Linked DNA regions of Homo sapiens: regions 1 and 3 are each linked to region 2. Evidence: promoter capture Hi-C in human tissues and cell types (Jung and others, 2019). All regions are on one chromosome and are shown on one strand. Each heading gives the region's core, a stretch centred on a gene start or on the middle of the fragment in contact. The rest is flanking DNA. Distances are from core to core; before and after follow the strand shown.

Region 1 (3,604 bases), core at 684-3,183, 330 kb after region 2:
CAGAATGTGCAGGTTTGTTACATAAGTAGACATGTGCCATGGTGGTTTGCTACACCTGTCAACCCATCACCTAGGTTTTAAGCCCCACGTGCATTAGCTATTTGTCCTGATGCTCTCCCTCCACTCCCCCTACCATAGGCCCCAGTGTGTGTTGTTCCCCTCCCTGTGTCCATGTGTTCTCATTGTTCAGCTCCCACTTATGAGTGAGAACATGCAGTGTTTGGGTTTCTGTTCCCATGTTAGTTTGCTGAGAATGATGGCTTCCAGCTTCATCCATGTCTCTGCAAAGGCCCTTCATTCCTTTCTATGGCTGCACCTTGACTATTTCTATGGCTATTTCTGTTCTTAGGGAGGCTCCTCCCATCTCCAGTGCATTCTTCTGCCCCCCTCTTTTACTGGGAATGGCGGCATTTCTTTGCGTTTTCTGTAACTAGAATTCTCTGTGTGGCTGGCACAGTGTGATGAGCTGGCAAGCTTCCCCACTGTGGGGGAGGGCTTATCATGAGGTCTGCTGGAGGAAACTAAGAGAGCTGAGCCTTAGGGGCTTAAATGAACTGCCTGAGGGGAAGCTGACACCCAGTGGGGCTGTAACCCTGGTTGGAGAGTTCATGTCTGCACCTGGCCTCGGCCTGCGTTCTCACTTGCTCTGCCCAACTGGCTGTGCCTTCAGCCGGCTCATCACCAGGAGATTTGGGTTGGAGCTACTGCTCAGCCACCATGAGCTACATGACCTTGAAGGCCGATCTTTGATTGTCCGCAGGATAATCCTGAAGGTTCTCAGGCCATGGACCTGTGAATTTCCCTTCTTTCAGTGTCTGCATCATTGGGAACCAAGCCCCTAACCAATGTTTATTCATTCGCTCAACCAATATTTGTGGAATATCACAGCCCTAGGGGTGGGGACACAGCAGGGAACAAGAAAGACAAGAATTATTGTCCTCAGTAGGTTACTGTGGAGTGGGGAGGCTGGCAGGAAGCCACGTAACTAGAATACACGTTAGGTCAAGGCAGTATTCCCACAGAGAAGATGGAACAGGGAAGGGGAGTGAAGGCCAGGATGGGAGGTCTACGGACTTAAGTAGGATGATCTGGGAAGTAGCATTTGAGTAGAGTCTGGAAGGAGGGATGGGAAAGAGTGTTCCAGGCAGTGGGAACAGCAGGTGCAAAGGCCCTGGGGCAGAAGTGTGCCTGGACTGTCAAGACTGTTGGGCTGTGTGTCTGGAGCAGGTAAAAGAGAGATAAGGTCAGCAAGGACCTGATAAGCAGAGCCTCATGGTCACGCTGAGGACTCCAGGACCTGTACACCGAAGGGAATGACAGGAGCTGACTCATGCCCTAGCAGGACTTCTCTGTCTGCTGTGTTGAGCGCTGGTGATGGGGGCGTGGGAAGAAGTTAGGAGCCATTACAGAGGTCCCGGTGGGCCATGATCAGGACACCACAATGCAGGTGGTGAGAATGGATCGGATTCTAGACATATCTCAAGGTGGAGGACCAAGACTTTCATCTAAATCTAAACAATAGTTATGAAATGTTAACTTGAGATGGATCTATTGGAATTATTCAGATACTTCCAATAATGGATCATGAGAACCAAGAAAGGCCCTAGAATTTATCCTGATCTTCGTAGGATTTTCCCAAGGGTAGAAATGATGATGAACTGGGTGACCGTTCACAAAGGAGAGAGGATTCCCAGCCCCCAAGCCTGAAGCCTTCCCCTCAATCACCCTCAATCACCATCTTCTGTGGGTCGACCAGATGCACGGACTGTTCTCAGCCATCCCTGTGGTTCTTACGGCAATGTCTAGCTGTGGGACTGCACTGGTGCTTCGATGGCTCATAGAAGCCCCATATAAGGCACTGCTCCTGTGGGATGTGCCTGTCAAACCTGCTTGTCCACTGCCGTTCAGTTCAGCCAGAGATTGGGCCACATTCAGTCCTCGCTTCCCTGGGAGGGGGAAGGTAAGTGCGCGCAGTCCATCCGGCGAAGAGCAGGTCAGCCTACGGAGGGCTCAGCCTACGGAGGGGCTCAGCCGACACAGGTCTGATGGGGCCCGAGAGTGGTCCCAGGGGAGTGGGAGGGGCCGGCATCTTCCTCATCAGGAGTGGAGGAGCTGCCTTGTATGTGGACTAGAGAACAGAAAACGGCTTGTCTGTGTTGCTGGGTCAATCACTGGAACATTCTCTGAATGCTGAGTTCTGCCTTAAAACAGCATGGGTCATGCTAGATGAAAGGGATCTCTGTTTTATACTCTCATCTCTTCGCTATTGCCGTGGGATGAAAGACAGCAGAAGGAAGGTGTCTAAGTTCAGAACAAAGTGAGCAAGACCAGCTGGCTGCTGTTGGTAGCAGAGGCACAGCCAGCCTGTCATGGCACTGGGGGGCCGAGGTGAGCTGTGCCCCCTCCTCCTGGGCTTGTGACCCTCTGCCCCCCATGGGGTATGTACATGTGTGTGTGTGCGTGTGCGTGTGTGTATGTGTACATGCCTTCTTCCCTACTTCACTGGCAAGGGAAGAGACTGACACTTGGGTTAGGAGAAGGATGTTGACCTGGGAGGGGTCAAATAAGGAGAACCCACATCTTAGATGCTCAGGATTTTATGATCTTAGGCTCTTCTAGAATTGCTGTACAGTTAGATTCAGAGTTTGGAATTAGAGATCTCTGGGCCCTCCCCTCCCCTCCCGTCCCCTCCCCTCCCGTCCCCTCCCCTCCTCTCCCCTCCCCTCCTCTCCCCTCTCCTCCCCTCCCCTCTTCTCTCCTTTTTCAGAAGTCTCCCTCTGTCGCCCAGGCTAGAGTTGCAGTGGCACAATCTCGGCTCACTGCAATTTCTGCCTCCTGGGTTCAGGTGATTCTCCTGCCTCAGTCTCCCAAGTAGCTGGGACTATAGGTGCACGCCACCACACCTGGTTAATTTTTTTATTTTTAGTAGAGACAGGGTTTTGTCACGTTGGCTAGGCTGGTCTCAAACTCCTGACTTCAGGTAATCCGCCCATCTTGGTCTCCCAAAGTGCTGGGATTACGGGCGTGAGCCACGGCTCCTGGCGCCTTCCCATTCACCTTCCCCTTCCCCTCCCCTTCCTCCCTCCCTCCCTCCCTCCCTCCCTCCCTCCCTTCCTTCCTTCCTTCCTTCCTTCCTTCCTTCCTTCCTTCTCTCTCTCCTTCCCTTCCTTCCTCTCTCTTTCTTTTCTTCTTTTCTTTCTTTCTTTCTCTCTCTCTCTCTTTCTTTCTTTTCCTTTTTTTGAGCCAGGGTCTTGCTCTGTCACCCAGGCTGGAGGGCAGTGGCACAATCATAGCTCACTGCAGCCTTGAACTCTTGAGCTCAAGCAATCCTCCTGCCTTGGCCTCCAAAGTGCTGGGATTACAGGCCTGAGCCACTGTGCCCAGCCCTAAGGTTTTTTGTTTTGTTTTGTTTTGTTTTACTGTTAGGACTAACCCTTATTTACACTGGGACAAGTTACAAAGAAACTCCTGCAATTGTTAACTGCCATTGGAGACTACTGTAAGTTGCTTCATGGCAACTGCAGAAGGGACTAGTGACTTCTATTTAGCTCCACCCACTGATGCTTGAAGTTCAGTGTGGCTCTGGGGGCTCCAGAAGCCTGAG
Region 2 (3,261 bases), core at 382-2,881:
AGGCGGTGGCTGCGTGGGGGACGCTCACCTGTTCTGGAAGGCGATCAGCAGCCTGGGGTCCAGGATGTTCTCCTCCGGTTCCCACGTGTTATATCTTGCAAGGGAAAAGGGAGGGGGACACGGTGTAAAAAAAAAAAAAAAAGCCACCTTTGCCGCGGCCTCCAGGTGGGGAGTGACATAAGGCCCTACTCTGTCTTTATGAACATTTAGCCGTGGATGTGGAAGGTAGATTTCCGCAGGCCTGACGTAGTCCCTGATACACAGCCCCCCCCTCAAATAAACACGCAAGGGCAGGAAGAAAGGGGAGGGGTAAGGAAAATGAAACTAGCAGTTTATTTTGCAGTTGTCAAGAATTTTAAGCATGTTACTGCGACATGTTCCAAAGCCACTTTGCTCACCAGGAACCCTGCGTGCAAAGCAGCCGAAATGCAAAGTCGCAGTCCCCCTCCTCTCCCCAGCCCCGAGTCCCCGCGAGGGCTTCAGCCGTTCTCCATTTGACCCCTAATCCGATAGCCAACAGCCAAGCGTCCCCCCCACACCCCCTCGTGGCCCAGGAGCCCGCTGTCACGGGCGAGCAAACCCCAAATACTCAGCAACACAAAAATATGCCTCCGTGTGTGTGTGTGAGTGTGCGTGTGCCTGCGCGTCTATCTCCATCCGGTGCCTTCGCATTTCAAATTAAAGAAAAAAAATTCTCCACCAAAAGCGCCGCAGTGACAGTTCCCAACATTTTCTGCCTTTCTTCTTCCCCTCCCTGCACCACTAGGAGGGAGAAGGCACACAATTGCATTTTCGTCGCTTTTTAATTTTTTTTTTTTGGTTTTGCAATATGGAGCCGTTCGGTGGAGGGAAAGGGGAAAGGAGCCATTTTCTGCTGCACATCAGTCAGTGCCTGCGCCCTCCCTCCCTCCGCCGGCCTCCCCGGCTCGGCCCCGCGTCTCTCCAGCTCCTCCGGCTCCTTTTAGTGCATAAATTAGTGATGGCATTTCCCGGAGAGCGGAGCACAACACAGGGCGCCGGGCTCGGGCTCGGCGGCTCGGCTTCCCCAGTGCCTGCCACCGACTTCCCCACCCCCTCCTCCCTCCACCCCACCTCCACCCCGCCTCCCGTCCGCTCCCCCCACCCCCCCAGCAGCTCGGCGGGTCCGCGGCCCCGAGCCCCGCGCCTCGGCCCCCGGGCCCCCGCCCTCCGCCGCGACTTACTTGGGCGACCAGCCTCTCCATTTCACCAGATACTCCACTCTGCCCTGGGGGGAAGAGACAGCACTCCATCAGCTTCCGCGGGATCCCCGGCCCGGCCCGCAGCCTCCCCACCCCCTCCCCGCCTCCTCGCGGGCCGCTCCGGCCGCCGCTCGCCGCCCCCGCGCCGCCCTACCTTGCGGATCCGCTTCTTCTCGATGCTCTCCACCGCGAAGACGTGCTCGCCAACAGCTGGCAGCTCCATGGCCGAGCCGGAGCGCGCCGGGGCGCTGGCGGCCGGCGCGGCTGCAGACGCTGCTAGCTCCCGCCGGCGCCCAGCTGCCGCCCCGGCCGAAGCGCCCCCGCCGCCGCCGCCGCTCGCCCCGCACAGCCCGGCCGGCCCGCCGCTGCCCGCGCCCGCCCCGGCTCCCGGCTCGCGCTCGCTCAGACAACTGAGCCCGGGCCGCGGCTGCACAAGAACTCATGCAAATCCCGGACGTCAGCGGGCGGGGCCTCGCCGGGCCCAGCTCGGCGTCAGGGGGCGGGCCGCGGCGCGGATTGGCGCAGCCGGGCCTACCGGAGGCCCCGGGCCTGGGCGGCGGGGGGAGGAGGAAAGGGCGCGGGTGGGGGACGCGGAGGGGAGGGCGCCGGGGAGGTGCAGGGGGAGGGATCGGCGAGCCTGGGAGAGGGAGGCTGCAGAGAGGGAGCGGGACCGGGAAGGAGAGGTGTGTCCGCCGGGGCGGAGGCGGGCGGAGAGCTTGACAGCCCGGAAGGGTCTCGGCGGCGACCCCTCGCCCACATCCCGGTGCCCGGGCCTCCCCCTCGCGGCACGTTCTCAGTGTTCACGGCCCCGGGACCCCTGCTGGGGGCCACGGAAGCATCCGCCGCCGCTCCCAGTTGCACCGAATTGCGTCACCAGCGCCCCGGGACGCGCGGGCCCCGCCGGCAGGGGGCGGAATGGGGCAGGGGCAGCTCGCGCCCCACTGCGGGCCCCGCCTCGCCTCCAGGCTCCGGGCATTTTGGAGCGCGAGGAGGGAAAGGGACAGGGCGGAGAGAAGGCCGAGGACTGGGTGCCAAGGAGAGATTGAAGAACGCACGAGGAAGGGGACCGAGGAGCAGCCAATCCCGGGGCCCTGGCGCCCAAGAACCTCGGCAGAAAGGGCTCCAAATCCGATCCCACCCCGATCCTCAATGGCTCCGAATTTACACTTGGTCCTCTTATTGACGGGGCGAGATGTCCTGTTTCTAGCAGCCTCCAGAGCCAAGCTAGGCGAGAGGCGTAGGAGGCAGAGAGAGCGGGCGCGGGAGGCCAGGGTCCGCCTGGGGGCCTGAGGGGACTTCGTGGGGTCCCGGGAGTGGCCTAGAAACAGGGAGCTGGGAGGGCCGGGAAGAGCTTGAGGCTGAGCGGGGGACGAACGGGCAGCGCAAAGGGGAGATGAACGGAATGGCCGAGGAGCCACGCATTCGCCTTGTGTCCGCGGACCCTTGTTCCCGACAGGCGACCAAGCCAAGGCCCTCCGGACTGACGCGGCCTGAGCAGCAGCGAGTGTGAAGTTTGGCACCTCCGGCGGCGAGACGGCGCGTTCTGGCGCGCGGCTCCTGCGTCCGGCTGGTGGAGCTGCTGCGCCCTATGCGGCCTGCCGAGGGCGCCGCCGAGGGCCCGCGAGCTCCGTGGGGTCGGGGTGGGGGGACCCGGGAGCGGACAGCGCGGCCCGAGGGGCAGGGGCAGGGGCGCGCCTGGCCTGGGGTGTGTCTGGGCCCCGGCTCCGGGCTCTTGAAGGACCGCGAGCAGGAGGCTTGCGCAATCCCTTGGCTGAGCGTCCACGGAGAAAGAAAAAGAGCAAAAGCAGAGCGAGAGTGGAGCGAGGGATGGGGGCGGGCAAAGAGCCATCCGGGTCTCCACCACCGCCCTGACACGCGACCCGGCTGTCTGTTGGGGACCGCACGGGGGCTCGGGCGAGCAGGGGAGGGAGGAGCCTGCGCGGGGCTCGTGTTCGCCCAGGAATCCCGGAGAAGCTCGAAGACGGTCTGGTGTTGAACGCACACGTGGACTCCATTTCATTACCACCTTGCAGCTCTTGCG
Region 3 (3,559 bases), core at 30-2,529, 310 kb after region 2:
AATCCATCAGCCAATGCTGTCAGCTCCCTGGTACTCCATCTCCAAGGCAGCACAATCCTCTCTTCCCTGAACTGCAGCAAAAGCTCCCAACTCTCTTGTTTCCTCTCCTGCCTTGCCTCGCCTCACCTCAAATCTACAGACACCCAGAAGAATCTTTAAAACTGTAAATGTGATCGTGTCACATAGCTACTTAAAACCTTCCACTGGCTTCCCACTAGATTTCTAAATGAAATTCAAATTATTCGTCACCCTACACGTCTTTGCTAGATCTGCCCCGACTAGCTCTCCAAAATCCCACCACAGGGGACTTCTTTCAGTTCCTGGAATGCAGCTGGCTAAGGGCTGCAAGGCCCTGGCACCAGCTGTTCCTTCTGCCCCAACTGCTCTTCCCTCTTCTCATAACAGTCTCCTTCATCCAGAACTCTGCTCAAATGGCACCCCCTCCTGCGAACCCCCTTACCTCTCTGCTTTACTAATTCTCTCCTCCTTCCCAGTCCCACTCTATTCAATTACCCCGCTTCAGGTTCTTCAGGTTGCCTGGGCAACCTGACAGTATGCTTTCCCCCCAAACGAAATTCAAAACCCGTAAAGGCGCAAACCCTTCCGGTTTACCGCCAAAACCCCAGTACCTAGAAAAGCTAATAGGTAGAAATCAGTTATCTGCTGAATGAAGGACGCTGAGGTGCCTCGAAGCGGCTGCAGCCCCCGACAGACCCAGCGCCGAGCTCTGCACGGGGGACACACACCGAAAGCGCCGACACAGCCAGGCGTGAGGGCGAGGACGGGGGTGGGGGTGGGGGTCGGACGTCACTGGCCCCCGAGCCTCGACCCTGACCACGACCTCCGGAGCGCAGGGCCGGCCCGGGAGTCACCAGTCTGGCCCTCAGCCCCCGGCTCGCCCCCGACTCGCCCCCGGCTGGCCCCCGCGGCCCGCGCCCGCTCACCGTAAGCGTAGATGCCCCGCAGCAGGTCCTCCCGCAGGCCCATGGTGTCGAACGTGGGGGTCACATCCACCTCCTCGCTGGTCTCGAATTCCACTTTAGTCATGTCTTCCTCTTTGAGCAGCCGCTTTCGCGCCGAGCCCGAGGTCGCCATCGTGGCCGTGGTCGCCATGATTCAGAGTCCGCGGAAGAGCACAGCGCGCGCCGCTGCCGACCTCGCTGCCGCTGCCGACCTCGCTGTGCCGCTGCCGACCTCGCTGCCGCTGCCGACCTCGCTGTGCCGCTGCCGACCTCGCTGTGCCGCTGCCGACCTCGCTGTGCCGCTGCCGACCTCGCTGTGCCGCTGCCGAGAACAGACGCCTTAAGTATGCGAAAGCGAGAGACGTGCGTGCGTACGTGCGTACGTGCGTACGCGCGACGCGGCCACGCCTCTGGGGGACGGGGCACTCTTCGTCACGTGAAAGGGAACTGGGCGTTTGCCGCAGGGAAAAGTAAGGTGTTTCTGCTCTCGCGCCATATGCAGTTCCCGCGGGATCTCGTTGAGGGCGGGGCACCCAGTTCCTTACGAAAGGGATGGAGGGGGTGGTACTTCTAAAGTTGGCGGTGTTTCGTACCGGCCGCGGGATTTCGCGGACTGGGGCGCTGAGGTTCTTTGAGCGGCGTGTGGACCTGAATTCCCTGGAAACAGGCTGGGGCCGCGAGGGGCCTCCGCTCCGGGCGGGGTCCCCAGATAGCCCCGCCTCGAATAAAAATGACGAGCACGGGTCCTCTCTCGGGCCCGCAGTGGGTGGACTGCGTCGCAGACCCGTAGTGGAGGCGCCCAGCTCGCCGGGGAGATTCGAGTGGAAACCCTCACGGCCGCCGGTGGTGGGCCCCGGCGCGGCGCTGGGCTCCGGCGGGTCTGCGCTGGGGAGGGCCAGGGCCCCTGAAGCCGGCGTCCCTCTTAGGGGACGCGCCTGGGTGTGTCTTCACCGTTTGCCTGGTGAGTTGGAGACAGGGTCTCGCTCCGTCGCCCAGGCTGGAGTGCAGTGGTAGGATCAGGGTTCATTGTAGCCTCCGCCTCAGCCTCTGGAGTAGCTGGGACCTCAGGCGCGCGCCACCACGCCCGGCTAATTTTTTAAATTTTTTTGTAGAGACGGGGTTGGGGGAGGCGGGGGTTAGGGTTGTCCTGGCTGGTCTTGAACTGCGGGGCCTCAGGTGATCCGCCTGCCTTGGCCTCCCAAAGTGCTGGGATTACAGGCATGAGCCACTGTGCCCGGCAAGCAGCTGTTATAAATAAAATACATGCTGAGCCTGCAATTTGCTCTTAATGAAGGCCACTTGTCAGTAGACGGTGCTGCTAATGCGTGTCCTGCAGCAAAGATAACCCAGACGGGATCATTTTTTAATTGCCCAGCAGAACTTTAACCAGTTGTGCATCTTAACCTGCTTTTTGTTTGTTCGTTTGTTTGTTTTGAGACAGTCTGGCCCTGTCGCCCAGGCTGGAGTGCCATGGCGCGATCTCGGTTCACTGCAGCCTCCACCTCCCGAGCACAGGCGATCCTCCCGCCTCAGCCTCCAGAGCACCTGGGACCACAGGTGTCCACGCGCAGCCACTAACCGCTTTCTTATCTGACACTTTAAGTGCTTCTTCGTACCCAGCTCCTCTAACGCCTTTTGAAGCAGCTCCATCATCTTTGAAGGGCAGTTCATGCTGTTGAGAATCATGTTTTTAACTTTGGGAAAATTGTATTTCCACGAGCGCCAGCTCTGTCCTTTTTTTTTTTTTTTTTTTTTTTTTTTTTTGACGGAGTCTTGCTCGGTTCGCCCAGGCTGGAGTGCAGTGTCGCGATCTCAGCTCACTGCAAGTTCTGTCGCCCAGGTTCACGCCATTCTCCTGCCTCAGCCTCCCAAATAGCTGGGACTACAGACACGCGCCACCACGCCCAGCTAATTTTCTGTATTTTTAGTATAGACCGGGTTTCACCATGTTGGCCAGGATGGTCTTGATCTCTTGACCTCATGATCCGCCCACCTCGGCTTCCCAAAGTGCTAGGATTACAGGCGTGAGCCACCGCGCCCCGCTATTTTGTGTGTGTGTGTGTGTGTGTGTGTGTGTGTGTGTGACAGAGTCTCGCTCTGTTCCCCAGGCTGGAGTGCAGTGGCGCAATCTTGGCTCACTGCAACCTCTGCCTCCCGGTTCAAGCGACTCCCCTTCCTCACCCTCCTGAGTAGCTAGGATTACAGGCATGCACCACCACGCCCGGCTAATTTTTGTATTTTTAGTAGAGATGGGGTTTCCCCGTGTTGGTCAGGCTGGTCTTGAACTCCTGACCTCATGATCTGCCCGCTTCAGCCTCCTAAAATGCTGGGATTACAGGCATGAGCCCGGTCCTGTCCTTTCTTATGGTCACAAATCTGGCTTGCATCGCTGGGCACATCTTTAATCCACAGCTTCTTTCTAGGAGTGCTTGAAAAGCTCTCCTTTTATGAAGGTTAATTTTAGTTAAAACCAGAGCATCCTGGCCAGGCCTGGTGGCTCACGCCTGTAATCCCAGCACTTTGGGAGGCCGAGGCAGACGGATCATGAGTGTAGGAGTTCGAGAACAGCCTGGCCAAAATGGTGAAACCCCATCTCT

Evidence for each region. The method cuts DNA at HindIII sites, captures the fragments that hold promoters and counts their contacts. A contact is called where the count stands out against the background at its distance.
Region 1: a contact is called between the fragment with the promoter of CARD14 here and the fragment with the promoter of CBX4 in region 2, in 1 of the 25 tissues and cell types used here (pancreas).
Region 3: the fragment with the promoter of EIF4A3 here is called in contact with the fragment with the promoter of CBX4 in region 2 in 1 of the 25 tissues and cell types used here (liver).

What each region holds. Positions count from the first base shown.
Region 1 is chr17:80,168,097-80,171,700 of GRCh38, forward strand. CARD14 (caspase recruitment domain family member 14) reads left to right here and starts at 1,934. Exons shown (of 24, transcript NM_001366385.1): 1 at 1,934-1,960. The HindIII fragment of the contact is 21,960 bases long and covers 1-3,604 here.
Region 2 is chr17:79,837,809-79,841,069 of GRCh38, forward strand. CBX4 (chromobox 4) reads right to left here and starts at 1,632. Exons shown (of 5, transcript NM_003655.3): 1 at 1,375-1,632; 2 at 1,203-1,246; 3 at 29-94. The coding sequence starts at 1,443. RefSeq lists enhancers at 1-647, 648-1,469, 3,114-3,261 and a silencer at 1,519-2,228. The HindIII fragment of the contact is 26,084 bases long and covers 1-3,261 here.
Region 3 is chr17:80,145,849-80,149,407 of GRCh38, forward strand. It overlaps EIF4A3 (eukaryotic translation initiation factor 4A3), which reads right to left and starts at 1,280. Exons shown (of 12, transcript NM_014740.4): 1 at 945-1,280. The coding sequence starts at 1,113. RefSeq lists enhancers at 507-1,221, 1,222-1,934, 1,935-2,648, 2,649-3,361 and silencers at 859-908, 1,749-1,938. The HindIII fragment of the contact is 11,065 bases long and covers 1-3,559 here.